Regions from separate parts of the Homo sapiens genome. Here all the other regions are linked to region 2. The links are contacts of gene promoters, found by promoter capture Hi-C in blood cells and fetal thymus (Javierre and others, 2016). All regions are on one chromosome and are shown on one strand. The core of a region is centred on a gene start or on the middle of the fragment in contact, and the rest is flanking DNA. Distances in the headings are between cores, read along the strand shown.

Region 1 (3,275 bases), core at 418-2,917, 180 kb after region 2:
GGGATCCATTCTGATATTGCCAAATTCAGAAGACAAAAACCAGAATTTGAGGGCAGTGAGACAGCTATAATTAGTGAGAAGAGAACCATAAAGGGGATAGCTATGCAGAGACAGAGGTCCAGAAATCTGCAGGGAAGTATTCTAAATTTGTTTTCTAACACTAAGCTGTGCATTTACGGAGTTCAAGACTAGCCTGGTTAACATGGTGAAACCCCATCTCTACTAAAAGAATGCAAAAAATTAGCCTAGCGTGGTGGCGTGTGCCTGTAATCCCAGGTACCTGGAGGCTGAGGTGAGAGAATCACTTGAACCCAGGAGGTGTAGGGGTTGTAGTAAGCCAAGATTACACCATTGCGCTACAGCCTGGGTGACAGAGCGAGACTCCATCTCAAAAAAATATAAATAAATAAAAATAATAAATAAATAAAGGAAAAGGTATATTCTGTTAATGGATTAGAAAACTCAATATTGTTAAGTTGGCAATTTTCCCTTATAGACCTATAGACTCAATACCTTCTTAATCAAAATCCAAGAAGGTCTTTTTGGATTGCATAAAGTTGACGAAGTAATTCCAAAATGTACATGAAATAATTAAAGACTTTGACTAAATCAATTTTGTTAATGAAGAAAAATAATATGAGACATATGCTACCTGATTTCAAGACCTACCATAAAGCTATCATACATTTTAATGATGAAGATTCATAATAAGATACAAAATGAAGATACAGGAAATTTCTAGTCAAGTATTAAGATAAAATGCATCTATTACTTCAGCAGCCACAGCAGTGGGCTTCAACTCTTTATTTCCTTCCTTCTGGTTTAATTCATGTTTTTATTAAAGATAAAAGTATGTCTCTCTTGAAATCCTTTCCATAGAGTATTGCAAGTTTATGGGATCAGGACTCAGAATCAGGAAAAGTAAGAGTTGTGGAAAATGGCAAATTTTAAAAATAGTTAATTTAAGATAAACTACAGATTTCTAATGGTCAGTGGGAACACCCGAGATGATTCTTCCCCAAATTGTTCCATGCTCTATAATCCAATTTACTGAGTAATGTAAGTGTAACACATCACTGTTAGAACTGTTGATTTGCCTCTAACTTTGCATACAGTATTATCATTTTACAACCTCAAATGTAAAAATACCTATTATAACTGTTATAACAATGAGCCCTTTGAGACTTCTCTTACATTTACGAGTGGGTTTAATTTGATTTTATAAATATAAATTACTTTTAATAGTTGGATGCATGTTTTCTCAATAGATAGCAGTTTTTGTAGCAATGCTGATTATAGTACACTTACCAGTTGCTTATTATTGATCGCCCGTTTCTTTATCATTGACTGAAAAAATACACAAGCCTCAATATTCTTTAATCTTTAATTATCCTTACTTTTCTTATAATCTTTGATATTTAGGACTGGTAGAGAAGAGAAATTAGATTTTAGAGGAGAAAGGGGACAGAAATATTTGATAACACAAATTTAACTTAGCGTGAAGCCTTCATTTTGCCTCAGTGAGTCTAAGACAAAAAAAAAACCCAAAAATACTGGATTCAAATTTTTTAAAAAAATCATTTTTAGTCACAGATATCTTGCATCTACCTGAAGAGCTTGGACTACTTATAGTTAGAAGTTATCAATAATATCACTTTATATACTCAAGACCTTATAACTTTTTTTTTCCAATTATTTACAAGGCGAAGTGCGGTCCCAAGATGCTTCCCTCAATGATGAGTTCAACTTTAACCATACCATCCCAACCGTATCAACCACTACTAAGGCAATTCTTGGCCCAACTTCAACCCAGCAGGGGAGCCTCTTGCAATCATTAAGCAGACAGGGAATCAAACTGGGCAACATGGTGAAACACTGTCTCTACAAAAAATAGAAAAAGTAGCTGGGTGTGGTGGTGCACACCTGTAGTCCCATTTACTTAGGAGGCTGAGGTGGGAGGATGGCTTAAGTCCAGGAGGCAGAGGTTCTAATGCACTCCAGCCTGTGCAACAGAGCCAGACCCTCTCTCAAAAAAAAAAACAAAAACCTATGAAACAATAATTATTTTTATTGTAAAAGTAGCAAAAGGAGACAAAGTCTCATGGACATTTTCCTACTGCTTTCTAATCACATATAGATAAAACCAAGAATAACCAAATGAAGAATAAATTTCAAATCACATGACATGAAACAAGTGCAGGTAGTCTTGTCTAAAAGTTGGAATCATAATATCTTGCACTAATAGCACAAAATATTTGCATGAACTTTTTACAACTAAAAATGCACTAATCTTAGGTTGCTTATGTAAGTGTTAAAAAAATTATGTATGCACTAATTATCACCAAGAGAAGGCACTCTCTTACCATTTTAAACAATCTCAAAGCAATATATCAGGATATAAGTCAGGATATTTTAAAAATCCAAGAAACAACAAAGAATCACGTGATGTAAGGACTATGTAGGATTTATATGAGCTTTGGCTTTTATTCTGAATTAGAGAGGAAGCCGTTGAAGGATTTTGCCCAGTTATTGCACTATCTGAATAAATCTCTTTCCTTGTCTTTATATATTTAAAACCCCAGGGGTTGGGCCAACTCCGGGTAAAACTTGACTTGGAGACTCAAAAGAATTACATTAGGGTCTGATCGTTCACTTGGAACTTCTCAGTTCTGCTTTTGTCTGTGAGCATCTGTCTGTCACGGGGCTGCTGATGGCAGCAAACTTACGTCCTCACAGCTCCAAACCCAACAGGAAAGAGGAAAGATGGGGAGACCATTTCTTGGTCAGTGAAGTGAAAATGATGAGATTAATTTTGATTGGAAATGTGTCAGTCATTCACACAATTGTTTTTTCCTAGGTCACAAGGCTACCAAAGAACTTCACTCTAGCTGAGTTGATGTAATTCTGCCACTTCCCAGATGTAGGACACAGGTCAACTCCTGAAATTGGGGGTTGGGTGAGCTCCACCCTTGTACATAAATTAAGAGTTAGATAATGGTGATTTTTTGGAGGAAATCAGGCCATCATTATCAGAACAAATGGGGAATAAATGCCGAGTACAAAATCTGCCAAGTATTAATACAATATTGAAGAAATAAAACAAGTAGGATATCAGTACATACACAATAATTAAAAGATTGGAATTAGGTACATACATAGACCAATATCTCTTTATGACATGGTAAAATATTAACAGTTGGCCGGGCGCGGGGGCTCACGCCTGTAATCCCAGCACTTTGGGAGGCCGAGGCGGGCGGATCACGAGGTCAGGAGAT
Region 2 (3,166 bases), core at 549-3,048:
GTGGCCATAGGAAAAGTTTATAAAAGGAATTGAACAGGGTCAATTTCAAGAGCAAAGAAATAGGAGATGGGTACTCAGAGTACAGTAATTAACCAGAACAAGAATTTTTTTGAGCTTTTAAAAAGCATACAATTAAAGAATTGTCCACGTTTCTGCATGTATATGATTTCATTACATTCTCCTTTGCTGTTGATCATTGCTTTTTTTTTGTCTCGAGAAATTTTATGAGGAAAACTCAATACTTTTCATTTATTTATCAACAGTTTCTCCTTTCATATCTGCTGTTTAGTTTCTGGACTAAGATCTGTAAATTTCACATAGAACCCAGATTATTCATGGCTAGGTCTATAGTTATTAGGACTCAGAATACATTTTTACTGGGTCAAGTTCTGGTTTTATAAAAGGAATTAAAGACAGAGCCAGCCAGTTCTGATTCTTTAATTATTCAATTGAAATGAAGACAATTCTGTAAATGATACATGAGAAGGGAAACTAATAAATAGACTCCTTTTATAGATTCCACCTATTGACTTAGTAGGATTGTTCTCTTGACAGTTGACAAAATATTTACCCCTAGTTGTCCTTTTTTTAAAAATAAGAATTAGAACAACTGCAATTATTTTTAAGAACAAGGAACACATAAAAATATTGGAGCTCTGATGAGATCAAAAGTATAAGACTAAAGCAATTAGAGAAAACCTCAGCAATTTGCTCTGTGATTACATTATTTCAAATAAAAATGGGAAAAATTTACTTCTTTATAGTTTCTTTCTACCTCATTTTCATGCTAACTTCACTTTTGACAGAGTGAAGATGATTATTATTTTCAAGAGTACTTTATAGCATAAAGCAAAACATGAAACCGAATCATTTTCACAAAATCACCCAGTACATCCACAGGTATACACTTATATCACCTTTCACAAAATGCTGATCTGGTGAAAATGAATGTTCTTTCCCTACCTATTTTAATTTTAATTGTTTTCTTGTCAGAAAGAAGTACCTTAATTAAAATGTGTTACAAAGCCAAGGGCTCCAGTATTACTTCTGTGTTCTATGTTGTCCCTGTGGTAGCCACATAATCATCAAGTGCCCAGTGGGGCATGGCCTCGTCCTTTTGGGCCCATGTTCATGGAATGGCATACAGTTGAACCTATTATTCACCTTTCTTAGCATTAGCTTTTTTTTTTTTTTTTTTTAAGATGGAGTTTCACTCTTGTCACCCAGGCTGGAGTGCAATGGAGCGATCTCGGCTCACTGCAACCTCCGCCTCCCGAGTTCACGTGATTCTCCTGCCTCAGCCCCCCGAGTAGCTGGGATTACAGGCACCTGCCACTACGCCCAGCTAATTTTTGTATTTTTAGTGGAGATGGGGTTTCACCATGTTAGGCAGGCTGGTCTCGAACTCCTGACCTCAGGTGATTCTCCTGCCTCGGCCTCCCAAAGAGCTGGGTTTACAGGTGTGAGCCACCGCACCCAGCGAGCATTAGCTTTTTTTTTCTTTTTGCAGTCCGTTTTATCTCTTGTACAGCAACCAACTTACTTTTTCATTCCTCTTCTGTTTTGTTTCTTTCTTGTTTCGTTCATGGTTTTATTCTCCCTCATTTTTCAACTGGCCTCAACATAGAGTCAAGAACTTGTCTTCATCCCTCCAATCTAGAGAACAGAACCCACACAGGTAGACCAGCCACAGTTTGTGCCCATTGATTTGGAGGAGAGATAGGCAAGAACGTATCAATGGACTTACTTTGTTCCTTTGGCACCTCTATGTTTCCTCTTTCTCTGCTCCAACCTGTGTGCCAGTATCAGATATTTACCTGGATTTTATAGGTAGATTTTATTTCCGTTCTCCAAACCAATTTGTCTTGTATCTTTATGTAGTTCCAGAGTCCTTTTATGGTTATTTCTCTTTCACCTCAAGAGATGTAAATGCAACTGTAAAGTTTGGAATACGCTGTGCTTTCACATCCTCCTCTAATTTTTACTGGGAAGCCTATTGTGACCCTCCCAAACACTTTAGTATTTATTTTCTCCAGCTTTCTAATGCTCAATCATTGCAATATCATACTGCATTTTTTTATTTTTATTTTTATTTATTTATTTTTTTTACTGGGATTTTATTTTTAAATTTCTAAACACTCAAATTATGTTTATAGTCTCTTTTTTTTTTTTATTGATCATTCTTGGGTGTTTCTCACAGAGGGGGATTTGGCAGGGTCATAGGACAATAGTGAAGGGAAGGTCAGCAGATAAACAAGTGAACAAAGGTCTCTGGCTTTCCTAGGCAGAGGACCCTGCGGCCTTCCGCAGTGTTTTTGTCCCTGGGTACTTGAGATTAGGGAGTGGTGATGACTCTTAACGAGCATGCTGCCTTCAAGCATCTGTTTAACAAAGCACATCTTGCACCGCCCTTAATCCATTGAACCCTGAGTGGACACAGCACATGTTTCAGAGAGCACAGGGTTGGGGGTAAGGTCATAGATCAACAGCATCCCAAGGCAGAAGAATTTTTCTTAGTACAGAACAAAATGAAATCTCCCATGTCTACTTCTTTCTACACAGACACAGCAACAATCTGATTTCTCTATCTTTTCCCCACCTTTCCCCCTTTTCTATTCCACAAAACCGCCATCGTCATCATGGCCCGTTCTCAATGAGCTGTTGGGTACACCTCCCAGACGGGGTGATGGCCAGGCAGAGGGGCTCCTCACTTCCCAGAAGGGGCGGCTGGGCGGAGGCGCCCCCCACCTCCCTCCCGGAGGGGGCGGCTGGCCGGGCGGGGGCTGACCCCCCCACCTCCCTCCCGGACGGGGCGGCTCGCTGGGCGGGGACTGGCCCCCCACCTTCCTCCTGGACGGGGTGGCTGCCAGGCGGAGACGCTCCTCACTTCTCAGACGGGGCGGCTGCTGGGCGGAGGGGCTCCTCACTTCTCAGACAGGGCGGCTGCTGGGCGGAGGGGCTCCTCACTTCTCAGACTGGGCGGCCGGGCAGAGACACTCCTCACCTCCCAGACGGGGTCGCCACTGGGCAGAGGCGCTCCTCACATCCTTGACGGGGTGGCAGGGCAGAGGCGCTCCCCACATCTCAGACGATGGGCGGCTGGGCAGAGACGCTCCTCACTTCTTGGACGGGATGGTGGCCGGGAAGAGGCGCTCCTCACTTCCCA
Region 3 (3,223 bases), core at 709-3,208, 250 kb after region 2:
TTTCAATTTTATTGTTCTTTATATCACCATAAATCCTCAATCACTTGTCTGCTAAGAATAACACTAATAATATCTCACTTCACACTATATGGAAGAGGAGGTAAGATTGACATCTGTTCTTAGTCTAGAATTTCAACCTCTCTTATAAAGTCATGAAACTCTGTACCTTTGTCTTCTGTAATGCCACATTTTCCTAGTTTGCCTGTTATCTTCTTTAATCTCTTTTTGCCATCCTCTGGAAACCCTTATTTCTGATAATACTGTTTCTATTCTCTAGCAAAAAGGGTCTGATTTTTTCTGCCTCCTCCCACAAGCCTGGGTAACCTCATCCCTCTGGGTGAAGAGCTGTTGGGTTTACCTCTACAGCCATGTTCTCATTCCCTAGCTCCTGCCAGTTATCCAACTTTTGTGAACCTTATTTGAAGGTGCCCACACAATTCAAATTAAATATGCTCCAAGTCTTACTCTTTGTTCCTGCAGTTCTGTCTTGGTCCATGTCTATTGCCTTACTGAATGGCTCTATCATTCATTCAGTTTCCTAACCCAGAATCTGAGCGCCATCCTTTCCTGTTTTCTCTCCTGATTTACACATCCATTATATCAACAAGTACTGTCATTTCTCGTTCCTAAACATCTTTCAAATCCATTCATTCTCTCCAACTTCACTAGCATCATAGGTAGTTCAGTAACCATCATCCCTTCCCTAGAGAACTGCCTCTTTCTTAACCCTAACTCCCTGATTTCAGTATTATTTATTCCTATTGTTGCTTTACATGAAAACCAGGACAATATTTCTGAAATATAACCCATTTAATTCTGAGAATTAAAATAATTTCAGATTATAGACAACAAAGTTTTTGGGATTAGGCAAAACTGGATTTCAATCTCATCTATACCAGCTATATGAATATCTCTGAGTTTCAGTTCCATCTTCTGGAAAATGGGAATAATAATGTTACCTAGCTCCATCCTTCTTCCATTTGTGTGTCTTTTGCTTATTCATCAGGTCTCCAATTAGATGTCCCTTTATCTAGGAAGTCTCCTCTGCCTACCTACCCAACGTTGAGTTCTTTGATCCTCCTATGAGCTCTCTCAGGATATCCAATTTTACCTTGCAGATCACTGATTATAATGGGTTGTAATGATTTATTTATTCATCAGCATTGCCACTTTACCTTGCAGGTAACTGATTATAATGGGTGATTTATTTACTTGTCTATATTGTCAAGTAGCCTATAAAATCCTTGAGCGAAAATCATTTTTCACCATTTTATCTGAAGCACATGGCACACTGCTTGGCTTATAGTAGCTTTTCTCTAAGAAAATGCTGAGTGAATGAAAATTGCATGCCACTTTGCTTTCCTCCATGTAAAGAAGGCATTATTTTATTTTACCAATGAATCAGGTTCAGGGGATTAACAAGGTCATACAAGAAATGATTGCCATTGGGTTTGTCTTAGTCAAAGACCAGCTTGTTCTATGATACCAGCTGCTTCTTTGACTTAGAAAGGTGTTGTATTAATTATTGCTGTACAACCAACTTGTTCCCATTTTGTGGCTATTCATGTTGAACCTCCAAAGGTGAAATATCATGAAAATAAGATATTTAAGTTGTGTATATTAAGGCACAATTACTTTTTCACCAACCTAATACAATAGTAACAGTAGTTCTCTGGGAAGAAGAGTACTGTGGAAATGTGTGAAATTGTGAAAGGGGGCATTTATAAATTACCATTTACTTAGTTGTGTATATAACAATCTTTGAGCAGAGTCTGGCAAACAGAAAATCCTCCACCACTGATACCCACAGTAATTAGCACTATTATTTTCATAGGAAAGACTGTATCAGGCAGCCACTGCTTTTTCAGCAAATTTCAAAATAAACGTCCACACCCATATTGGGAACGCAAAATCAGTTAATGCTTCCGATAAAAAAGAGGAACTAGTTGTGTGTCTCAGAAGTTCTCAACACATCCTTTAAGGTTCCAAACATCTACTAGAAAAGGAGTGCAGATTTAAACTGAGTGAGGTGTGGAGTGGGGGAAGCTGACTGTGTCTGGAACAAAGAACTTTGAGGAACTTGCCCAGAGCCCTGCACTCATCAGACCTGCAGCAGACATTGCAGGCCTGAAGAAAGGTAGGTCCAGGGACTTGCCTTCCTAGGCTCTCGGACTGATAGTTTGTTTCATTTCCTGGGTTTAGGATTTCTGGGAGTGGAGTGAGAAAAAAAAATGAGGTCACTTCCCATGACCCAAGCTGGTAGTCAGGGTTGGGGTGGATTGAGTGCACATTTAAATATGCATTTGGTGAGGGTTGTGGGTGGTTGAGGAACAGTCTTCGCTACAGTTGATGGGAGTTAGAAAAGCCTCCTAAAGGCTGACACTGGAGGCTGGATGAAGTTGTTTTAGTTACTTTTGTTCCGTAAGTTCTCAGGATACCAAAACACTGTAAGCAACATTTTAAACTTTGATTAATTACCTCATCTACTGTTAATGCACTTCTTCCATGGTCTTTATTCTTTGTCTCTGACTGGTTATTTTTATAATTCAAGACTTAAGAAAAGATCTAGCACGTGCAGAATTTGGTGTACATGGAGTAGGGCACAGGCAGGGTCCCCAGCCTTGTACATTTAGATGGGCTGTGGCCTGACGTAGTTCTCCAGTGGTCTTTGGCACTATTCATGTGGCACCCAGGCAGTAAACTGAGGCTGCTCATGATAAAATCTGCAAATGAAAAACATCTTGTAGACTTTTAGCATTCTTAGGATAAGAAAGAAGCTTGTAAGTAGTCGTAGTCATTGTAATCTTTCCCCAGATGAAGTAAATGAAATCCAGAAAAGGGAAATAATGTACCTAGAATCACACAAGTTAACAAAAGGGCTAGGAGCAAAAAACCCAGAATTCTTGGTTCCTAGCCCAGGCCTTTCCCCCTTTTCCCTTCCCATGCCACCATTTCTGCATCCCCATCATCCTCCTAAAAACCATCCAGATTCAGGCCTCATTTTGGGTTTCTAGTCTATTTGATAACTCTGCCAAGAAAAAGGGGATGACCGTGTATACCACTCTCCTCATGCTCTCTTGTGTTGTGACCCATAAGGGGGATGGTGACATAAAAATGAGGAAACAAGAGACTGCTGGTGCTGCTGATCCACAAGGAGACTGGGGCCAATAGAAGAGGGAAGGGTGGTCTAGGTTACCCCACCTCTTTATCCGGGGTGGGGAGG
Region 4 (3,241 bases), core at 429-2,928, 150 kb after region 2:
TAACAGCAGTTAGGGTTACTACTTCTGAGGGGAGAAATAACACAGGAGCTAAAAAGAAATTATTTAAGTAGCTAGTGAGGGTAAGGGAGTTCTCAGTAAGATTTTCTTTTTATTAAAAAGCAGCCCCCAAATCATTTCTTGTCTAGCAAAAGAAGCCTGAAAAATCCAGCTGCAAGAATAGATAAGCAAGCTGGAAGCTTGCAAAGGTGAATGCCAGCAGTTGTGCCAATAGAAAAGGGATACCTGGAAGCTAGATATATTAAGCATGGAGGTTCCCTCTTCCCTTTTCTTTGTCACCATGTGTGCAGCAAAAAAGCAGGCAATATGGTGCCGGCCAGGTGGAGACCCCATCTGCATAATAAAAGATTAGTGTGGGATGGCCAGCACTTCCCATGCTATGTAAATGGCACATCTGGTCCAACCAATCTACTATGCCTGATGTAAATCAGACACGACCTCCTCAGACTCATCTATAAAACCAGCCTCATCTTGCCCCAAACCCAGAAATCCATTCGGGATCCCTTCCTCTGCATGAGGAAGCACTCTTCTTTCTTTTAGCCATTAAACTTCTGCTCTTAAATTCACTCTTTGTGTGTCCATGTCTTCAATTTTCTTGGCATGAGACAATGAACCTCTGATATTACCCCAGACAAATGACAATGCTTCAATGGTCCTCTCCTGTGGCGGAAGGTGGCACCATGTGATTAATAGTGGGGAGGTGGATTTTCAAAGGAAGTACATTCTGTCTTTTCTGTCTTTCTCTCCCCCCCCCTCTCTCTCTCTCTCTCTCTCTCACACACACACACACACACACACACACACACACACTTGTTTATCCTCTACATTCTTTTAGGCAGAAGATGATATTCTTTATTCTGTGCTCAAATAACAGTTAGTGTCTTTATTCTGTGCTCAAATAACAGTTAGCGAAATCCCTAACTTCATTGTCATCTCTGTTTTCCTTATTTGACTATAAATATCTTGAAGCCAAATCATGTATCTTATTCACTTTGGTAGCCCTGGCATTAAAAGCATAGTGTCTGGTATCCAATAAGTATCAATAAAAGTTGAATGTCCACAATAGGCAAATAAATAAAAGAAATGGTGTGTGTCAGTGGGGGGTGCAAAGGACAGGGAGAAGACCTAATGAAACAGATTTGAAGATAAAGCTAAAATCAAAGAAACTGACAGTTCCATTTGAGACTGGAAAAAAAGAGCAGAGAAACTCTCTGAGTATCAGGATATCTGAGACAGTGAGTATGAAGTATGACCCCTGCTACAGAGGGTCAGAGCAAGGAAATATGACAAAATCTTTCAAAGAAATGGAGGTCATATAAAATTGAAATACTTTTTTACACGTGTGTGTGTGTGTGTGCGTGTGTGTGCATGAGCAAGGTGAGGCTTATGTTTGTTATACTCAAACAATTCGTCTTTTTTATTTTGAAATAAGGACGTAAGTATGAACTGGTTGTCTCTTCATAACAGATAAGCATTCCTGGTTAGCATTTGTTCACTCGTTAGTTTTGTTTGAATATTGGTGAGGAGAAAATTGAGTTAAAATTTGGGTTTATGTCTGTCATTGTTGATTTATTCTGTGTTTAAAGGAAAAAATAACAAAATAAGTATTAAAATAAAGTATGCACTCAAAGATTTTATTTTGAAGCCGGCTACTTTCATACACTCGGAGACTTCATTATGGGGTTTGCCTTTATGCACTAATGAGTAAAATACATGGGATAAATCAGTAGCACCTGTGATAAAAGAGTCTGCGCACCACAGCAAATCAGTTAACTCCTGTTCACAATTGAGGAGTATAAGAAAAAGCTGTATCCTTTGCCTCACTGTGATCCATTGAATCATCATTCTGCCTAGTTTTCTGGGAAATGTCTAAGACTATTTGGCTAGTCTAGTAAATGGTAATTTACAGCCCTGTGCTTTTGCTGAAGTCAGTATCAGGCAAACCAAGAGATCCCCAATGAACACATATCATAAATGACAGCGAAATAATTTTTTAAAACAAATATGCATTACTTTAAATGCTTACATTTAGGAAACTCAAGTTTGCTTTTTTATAATGGTTAGGTTTTCCATATTATCATAAAAATCAACTTTCCAATTAATATTTCTCCGTTTTTTCCCAAGAAGTCAATAGTTCTTCATATCCAGCATCATGAGTCGTCTTTGAGGACATGAGTAACTGTGAGGCAGGAAAAGCACACTTTAGAAGAAACAAAGTATGTTAGGTCTTCAGACTTTACTCAGGTTCAAGATACATGTGGATATGCCATTTTTTCCAACTGTATACATAGAATTCTTAGCTAATCCAAGACAAGTAGAGCAGATCACTGGGTTCTTCAAATAATTACAATTTATCAGTCTAGTATTCTTCTATTCTCTATAATAAAATTCTGGATAAATCAAGGCTTTTAAATTCAGTTAAATAAAGCAATAAGTCCATAGGGGTGGTATCCCTTGGAATTTGATTCAACAATACATTTTTAATATATCTTTTAAAAGGAAAAAGAATTTTAAAATCACCAGGAGGAAAAGCAGAGCATAAGACATTCACTGGATCCAGTCACATGTGTAAAGGCCCTTTACCAAGTCAATACTATTAAAGAGACTAGTGGTTGTGGCAGAAATTGTTTCTGCTTAGAAGGGAGGCAAGCCAGGTTCTAGCGTCCTCAGCACAGGTACAGACTCATATCATAATGCCAGCCCAGTCATTTAACTTCCCAGAGTCTCATTCCCTTCAATGACAAAATGGGAAGATTGAACCAGTTGATTTCTCATTTTAACTATTTTCATATCCAGTGAACTCTCAGCTTGTCAGCTACTCAATTACCATCTGCTTTTCTTCTCGGTCTTCCATCACCATTTAAATGACCTCCCATGTGTATCTCATGACTGACTGATTGTTCCTTCTACCACTCTTGGTGACATACTCAACACAGTGCAGAGATAAGATACACTAGGCAAGATTAAGCGAGGCTGGCCAGCACACTCACCCAGGGAAGTCAGACAGTCTGTTTCCACTGCAGCACAGCAGTGAGCACAGCTAGGCAGAACTCCAACACAGTAGAAACCAGCATCAGAGACAGAGTTCCCTGAAAGTCAAGAAATAAAATATCAGTGATGCTTGGGTCAGCCGAAGCTTTCATGCCTAGTTTAGAGGTGACCATAGAGATGAAGACCACCTCAACCATTAGAGAATGAAGTAAGGAAACAATCAGGAAAACAA
Region 5 (3,167 bases), core at 372-2,871, 230 kb after region 2:
ATTGACTGCATGACAAAGCCCAATGTCTCCAGTAAGCATTTGAAGTCCTGTGAATTCCACATTTTGCACGTCCAGGATCTTACCTCTCACCCAAATGAAACTGTCACTTCTCCCACTGTGACAGAATCATAACAAAGTGTTTGCAGTTCCCCCCAGTAAGCCAAACTGTTTCAGGGCTCTAGCCTCTGTGCGCACTGATTCCCCTACCTAGAATGCATATGGCTGCAAGCACCTGCTCTTCTTTGAAAGCATTATTTGAATGTTAATTTTCAATGAATCCTCCTCTTCCCAAGGGAAATTTTAGCCAACACATCTGAACTTTTTGTGCTCTCGTGATGCTCCCTATGTACTGTGTTCAAGGGCAGGGACATTATCTTCTACAGGTATTACTGATCTCTTGCATAGGTCTGCATGGGCCAGATACTTAATAAATATTGGCTGAATAAAATAACTGTGAGTGGTAGCTCATTTGGAATAGGAACCTAGGATAACTTTAGACTGGTGAGAACAAAATGGCAGCCCTGTTCACATATACAGAGGCTGGCACTTAGGAGTCCCTCCTGTGTGAAGCAGAGAATTGTTGCTGTAGCAAACCTGTTTTCAAAAACCTCTTCATTCATGAAAAGAGAGTAATAACAACAGGGAAAATTATGTGAATTTGGAACAAGAGCAAAATAAGACAATGTAGCAATAGTAGACAGTGTAATTACTTGATATGAATGTTAGGCAGTGTATTAATGTATTTCTTTTGCACCGTAAGGTCCAAAATAGTAGCATTGAATGCCACAGCCTATGAGGTATTCATCAAGATTTGTCAATTTAGTATCGGTTTCCTACAGCTTAGAAAAACTGTTTGTCTGAGTACCCATAAGGAGCCTAAATTCCTGGTGGGAGGGGATCTTATCTTTTTTACTTGGTGGTGCCAGTGTTTTTCATATATTAGTCAAGAGAAGAAAGATTTTTATTGCCTCTCTCCAACTCATTTTTCCATTCCTGTCCCCATTGTTGGAAACACATGCTCAGTGTCACAAAAAAGAACTAGCGCTGAAACAAAGGACAAAGGGTCTCTCAGCAAGGCAAATTTACTTCTGCAGAAGGGTGTGTCTCGCATATGGAGCAATGGCGAGAGCACACAGAACAAAGGAAAGCAGGGGTTTTATTATCTCTAATGCAGCTTCTGCTTCTGTGTGTTTCCTCTATTGGCTAGGGTTGGACAGCACAGTCTAACTAGTCGTGACTGGCTAAACATTTAAACTTTCTTAGATAAGGTAGACATGTAAGGAAGGTGAGAAGAGAGAGACGAGGGGTCATTTACGGGGACATTAGGAAGGTAACCTATTCCCTAATAAGGAAAGGAATGTGGACTGGGGTTGTAGCAAGTTCAGGCATGCCTAGGTTCAGACAAGTTGGGGTGCAGCAAAGGCAAGGGGGTATGTGGAATTATAGGATAGAGAACAGGGAAACTGGATAAGCTGTTTGAAGTGGGAACCTAACTGTATCTAACACCATGAATGCCCTGGTTTCTTTGTTTTTCTCTCCTCAATTTTCATCCTTCATTTCCAGGGCTCAGAGTAAAGGATTTTGATTGTTTACTTATCTAAATTACAATCTGAATTGGAGAAATAGTGGTCTTTGTGACATTAAACAAATCATTTTTTGTGTTTCTAAATGCAAAGGATGGGAGGAGGGAGGAGTACATTATTTATCATATAGAGAAAGTCAAAACAAAAAATGTAGGCTAATGTTTCTGAAGACTACAGAGTTGAGGTGAACTTCAGATAAGATTGGAGCTACTGGTTTAGATGTTTAGATGTCATGGAGGCTCCAGCCCCAACTCTTGTGTACCTTTGTGTAGTGTATTAGCTCTACCCTCTTCTGTGTGTTGGCTTCATGCTTAGGCTGATTTCCCACCGCTTAGCAAAAATGTCTACATCAAGTCTAGGCCTTACATCCATATATCACCCTGTAGTTTGGAAGAATAGTGTTTTTAGAATAGTCTAGAGTTTCAAAACAAGACGATTGAGAATCATTCTGATGAGACCATGTAAGGTTACATGTCCACGCTGATTCAATCATTGCAGTGGAAAGGGGGTGTGAAAAGCACATTGACTGGGCCTAGAGCCAGAGCACAGTGGAGGCAGGGACGGAGTCAGTCCTCAGAATTACATGGATCCCCAGTCAGAAGTCACAGATTGCTGGGAAGAGGAAAGTGGAAGATGGATTCTGGGCAGGCAACAAGTGCATACTACAGGTCACTCCTTTGTCTGCCCTATGCCCAAGGACACTTTCTTCTGATCCATTCTTCCAACAATGATCACAGCTAACTGATGTGCATTCAGCCTTTCCCAAGTGAATGTCAAACCAAAAGCCCCATGCACTTAATACTTCATTAAAATATTAAGGGAGCTCTGTCTTAATAGGGAACTCTGCCTAAATAGTAATGTGTGTTTCTTGGCCTGACAGTTCAGCCACTTCCAGTTCTGTTTTCCAGGAATACTGCCTTTTCTCTCTTCAACCACATCCAGCATGAGAACTGAGAAAATGCGAAGCCAACTTAAATATGGTACAACTTTGAGGGCCTACATGGTGATTGTCTGTGATTGTTTAATCCATAGGGCAATTCTTGGGTCTTCCATCAAATAATAAGAAGGAAATTAAACAAAATTTTGGCAGTCTAATAGAAAAAAAGAAATTGGAAAAATAAGAACAATTAAATAATGGTGAATAGAAAGGAAAATATAAGATGTTATACATTTAAAATCTGATATATTAGTAATCTAAATAAAAATGAATACACTATACTTACTATTTAAAATAAATATTAATACCCTGAAAATTAGAAGTAATTTAAAATATACATATGCAAATTGAATAAATAATTAAATAAATAAAACACCATGCCCTGAGAAGTGAGTTATATGATACTAAAAATAATAGACAATGGAAATTTTATTCAAAATATTCAGAAGATTTTTTTTTAAAAAGGGAATGCTCACAAATTCATTTTAAAAGATCTTGATCTAAACCCAACCAGCACACTAAGAGATGGAGAAGTTTTCAGATATTTTTCAGTCTCTGAAAAATCATATTTAAAACACAAGGAAATATAATCCCACAGTGTAACATATATCATTACCAAGTTGTAATTATACTGCGAATGCGTGGGT
Region 6 (3,418 bases), core at 318-2,817, 200 kb after region 2:
TACTTTTAGTAATGATGTGTCAATGTAGTTCATCAATTGGTACAAAGGTTACATGCTGGTGGAGGAGGTTGATAATTAAAAAGCTATGCATTTGTGGGGGCAAGGGGCATATGGGATAGATCTGTACTTTGCTCTCAATTTTTCTTTAAGCCTAAAACTGCTCTAAAACATACAGTATATTTTAAAATAATTATTCATACATTAAAAAATAAACCCACTTTGGGAGGCTGAAGCAGGCAGATCACGAGGTCAGGAGTTCAAGACCAGCCTGACCAACATGCTGAAACCCCGTCTCTACTAAAAATACAAAAATTAGCCAGGTGTGATGGCTCATGCCTGTAATCCCAACTACTCAGGAGGCTGAGGCAGGAGAATCTCTTGAACCCGGAAGACGGAGGTTGCAGTGAGCCCAGATTGTGCCACTGCACTCCAGCCTGGATGATGGAGCGAGACTCCATCTCAAAAAATAAAATTAAAAATAAATAAACAAACAAACCTAGTATGTGCCAACATAAATAACATATTTTATGAGAAATAACTATATTTCCCCCCCTCCAGAAAATGAATAATGTGAAAAAAGGATCCAGAATATCCACAGTGACATTTTCCCGTGGTTTGAAGCTTGGGCTAGTGATAAACCTATATTTAATATCCTTTCACCTGCCCTATTCTGTCATTCTTTTAATCCTTCATTTCTTTTGGGCATGCTCATCTGAGACTCCAGATGGAAATGCTCAGAGGATAGATTTTTCATCCTCTGAGCAGGGGGCTAAGAAAAGGTGCCAGAAAGAAATAGTAGCAATATGTGCCTGTCAGCTATCAGGAAGGCCTGTAAAGGGGGCGTCAGCTAGTAGTGCATAGGTGGCCTTTTATTTTGCTGCTTTTCCACACTGAGTTTAAATACAATTATCATGGATGACCCACAACCCTAGAATAGATCTGAACTCAATATATTTTAAATATAACTCAACTGGAAGCATGTTGTGACAGAATACTATATAGTTTTTCAGATGAAGAGCCTGAAAAGTAATTACTGACGTCGTGAGGGTTGGCTGTTGTATTATGAGGCTAGTGGGACAGTGTATTTGGCATTAGGTCTTATGAAATATGAGTTTGCAACACCATTGGTCTTCCCCTAGATTTGCAACTTACCCCAAGGACTTTGGGTTCTCCCTTCAAGAACTTCTCTTGCAATCCTTTCCACAGATGTGAATGTATGACAGCCATGTTTCCCAGCTGGGGCACACCAGGGCCAGCCCCTGGCATGGCCTGTTCCATTCCTTGCATGGTTGTCATGGCAGCAGAAAAGGTGCTACAATAAGAAATGTAATTTAGTATGATGTCCTGGAAATGGCAAAAGAGGACATGACACTTTGGGGCAGGTTCCTCCCTAAGGACAGAATCTGGTCTACATTCTCTTCCCATATCATAATAGCTGTTAGAGCTGGGGAAGTGGAATAGGCAACACATTAAGTGTGTGTGTGGGGCGGGGGCAGGTGGGAGAGAAACTAAATGTCATATGATATCAAGATGCTAGAAAATCCTGCAGAGAGGGACATGTTGACAGAAGCGAGGTAAACCTGTTGGACCTCTAAAATTAGAGAAATTTCTTTAAGTTCCAATTCCAAGTCGGCTCAGATTTTATTTCTATCCCTCTTACTGCCTAATCCCTTGATTACAGCCACTTACCCACAAAGGATTACTTTGTTTTTTAGTTTTGTTTTTTTGTTTTTTTTTTTTGAGATGGAGTCTCACGCTGTCACCAGGCTGCAATGCAGTGGCGCGATCTCGGCACACTGCAACCTCTGCCTCCTGGGTTCAAACGATTCTCCTGCCTCAGTCTCCCGAGTAGCTGTTACTACAGGCGCGTGCCACCATGCTGAGCCAATTTTTGTATTTTTAGTAGAGACAGAGTTTCACCATGTTGGCCAGTATGGTCTCCATCTCCTGACCTTGTGATCCGCCCGCCTCGGCCTCCCAAAGTGCTGGAATTACAGGTGTGAGCCACCGCACCCAGCTGAAGGATTACTTTTATAATAGTAATAAACTACACAAACTAATCTGCCTTCCAATTTATTGTATAGTATTGCATAGTTCCTCCTTTTCTAATCAGAGCACAGTTAAATTCACAGGGCTGAAAATCTTCCCATGTTCCTCCTTGCTGAGTGTGATTTATGTAACCTTGTATTTTGTGCCACAAACTCTGAACTTTGGGAATGAAACTTATGGCTCTCAGTCATATTCTTGGCACCACAAATCTAAATCTCTTGTCCTATTACATTGCTTTAAATCCTAACTTGCTGGTGCATAGCAAGGATCCATCAAATCATTTTTTGAGAATCTAAGCACAAACATATTACTCTTATATCTCTTTCTGTCCTCAGTATAATAACTCCAACCAAGTCATGTAGAGATAGGCTAAAGTCACATGGAAATTTTTATCTATGTAGTTGAATTCATATTCAGGTGTTTCATGATCAACTTCCATAAATTTTTAGGGAAATGAAGCTTGCTAATATCCTTCAAGTAATAGTTAATTTTGATACCACTTATTCTCCACTGAGCCCCTATAAAAGTCTCGTTTTGAGATGTGTGCCCTTTTATTGGTACCATAAATGAAAAAAAAATTGTTGTACTCCAAATTTGCTATGTTGAGAAAAAAATTAAGATTTCTCTGAAAAAATTATCATCCTGTATTTATTTTTGATACATCAATGGAAATAAATTATTAGCTATCTAACAATAAAACTGATTAAAGTCAGAAGAAGGGGGGTGAATTTCAGAGAAAGATAGAGGAGAAACGTTAAAATGAAAAGATTAATTATTTAGAACATTAATTTAACTTTAGTAATGTATATACTTAAAATTATGAAAAATAGTAAAATAAAAAGTACAAAATTACAAATTATAAAATAAGTATTTCTTTTAAAAAAGAAAGACAAATATAATAAATAAGAAATATATAATGTAAATGTGAATGAAGTAGTTAAGATAAGGAATTATATATAAGAATGTAACCAAAAAATCAATGTTCTTATTCTTTTCACTTTTAGAAAAGTTCCGAAAACAATTTGGACAAACAGAATTAGAACTCCATTTTTTTTATGAAAGTGGGAAACAACTAACATTTCTATAAATCAGGTGAAATGAGTGTTAGAAACAAAGATTACATGATGATAAATTTGGGGAGAAGTGTAGTGAGAGTATGAAAGAAACAGGACACCATGGCCACAGATTTCAGAGTATACTTATCAAGGATGAGAGGCCCCCCCTGAGGTGTACAACATAAATTACTGTTTATAATCCTGGGAATTAAATACATCAGTTGATAACTGTCACTTCCCTGGAAAAGTATAGTTCTGAGAATCATCGAAGTCAGTAGTAAAGGAGAAATCACCAAAAAGACACATATTTAGAA

The links. Contacts are between HindIII fragments. The CHiCAGO score rates a contact against its expected background, and 5 or more counts as called.
Region 1: a fragment that was not itself captured here is called in contact with the fragment with the promoter of MS4A12 in region 2 in 1 of 17 cell types (total B cells); the score reaches 6.4 in total B cells.
Region 3: the fragment with the promoter of MS4A4E here is called in contact with the fragment with the promoter of MS4A12 in region 2 in 7 of 17 cell types (monocytes, M2 macrophages, total B cells and 4 more); the score reaches 19.8 in monocytes.
Region 4: a fragment that was not itself captured here is called in contact with the fragment with the promoter of MS4A12 in region 2 in 2 of 17 cell types (naive B cells and total B cells); the score reaches 8.6 in naive B cells.
Region 5: a contact is called between a fragment that was not itself captured here and the fragment with the promoter of MS4A12 in region 2, in 5 of 17 cell types (naive B cells, total B cells, M0 macrophages and 2 more). The highest score is 6.5, in naive B cells.
Region 6: a contact is called between a fragment that was not itself captured here and the fragment with the promoter of MS4A12 in region 2, in 2 of 17 cell types (total B cells and naive B cells). The highest score is 7.6, in total B cells.

Annotation. Positions count from the first base shown.
Region 1 is chr11:60,310,235-60,313,509 of GRCh38, reverse strand. No RefSeq gene overlaps it. Among named protein-coding and RNA genes, the nearest start is that of MS4A6E, 15 kb to the left of the region's middle. The HindIII fragment of the contact is 8,677 bases long and covers 1-3,275 here.
Region 2 is chr11:60,491,410-60,494,575 of GRCh38, reverse strand. It overlaps MS4A12 (membrane spanning 4-domains A12), which reads right to left and starts at 1,798. Exons shown (of 7, transcript NM_017716.3): 1 at 1,748-1,798. RefSeq lists enhancers at 2,075-2,812, 2,813-3,166. The HindIII fragment of the contact is 5,161 bases long and covers 1-3,166 here.
Region 3 is chr11:60,241,872-60,245,094 of GRCh38, reverse strand. MS4A4E (membrane spanning 4-domains A4E) reads left to right here and starts at 1,958. Exons shown (of 9, transcript NM_001393391.1): 1 at 1,958-2,137. The HindIII fragment of the contact is 3,157 bases long and covers 1-2,779 here.
Region 4 is chr11:60,339,732-60,342,972 of GRCh38, reverse strand. It overlaps MS4A6E (membrane spanning 4-domains A6E), which reads right to left. Exons shown (of 5, transcript NM_139249.4): 4 at 3,009-3,107; 5 at 1,632-2,197. The coding sequence ends at 3,018. Among named protein-coding and RNA genes, the nearest start is that of MS4A6E, 14 kb to the right of the region's middle. The HindIII fragment of the contact is 2,957 bases long and covers 200-3,156 here.
Region 5 is chr11:60,259,128-60,262,294 of GRCh38, reverse strand. No RefSeq gene overlaps it. Among named protein-coding and RNA genes, the nearest start is that of MS4A4E, 18 kb to the right of the region's middle. The HindIII fragment of the contact is 7,421 bases long and covers 1-3,167 here.
Region 6 is chr11:60,290,119-60,293,536 of GRCh38, reverse strand. MS4A4A (membrane spanning 4-domains A4A) reads right to left here. Exons shown (of 7, transcript NM_148975.3): 2 at 1,153-1,312. Among named protein-coding and RNA genes, the nearest start is that of MS4A4A, 11 kb to the right of the region's middle. The HindIII fragment of the contact is 1,887 bases long and covers 624-2,510 here.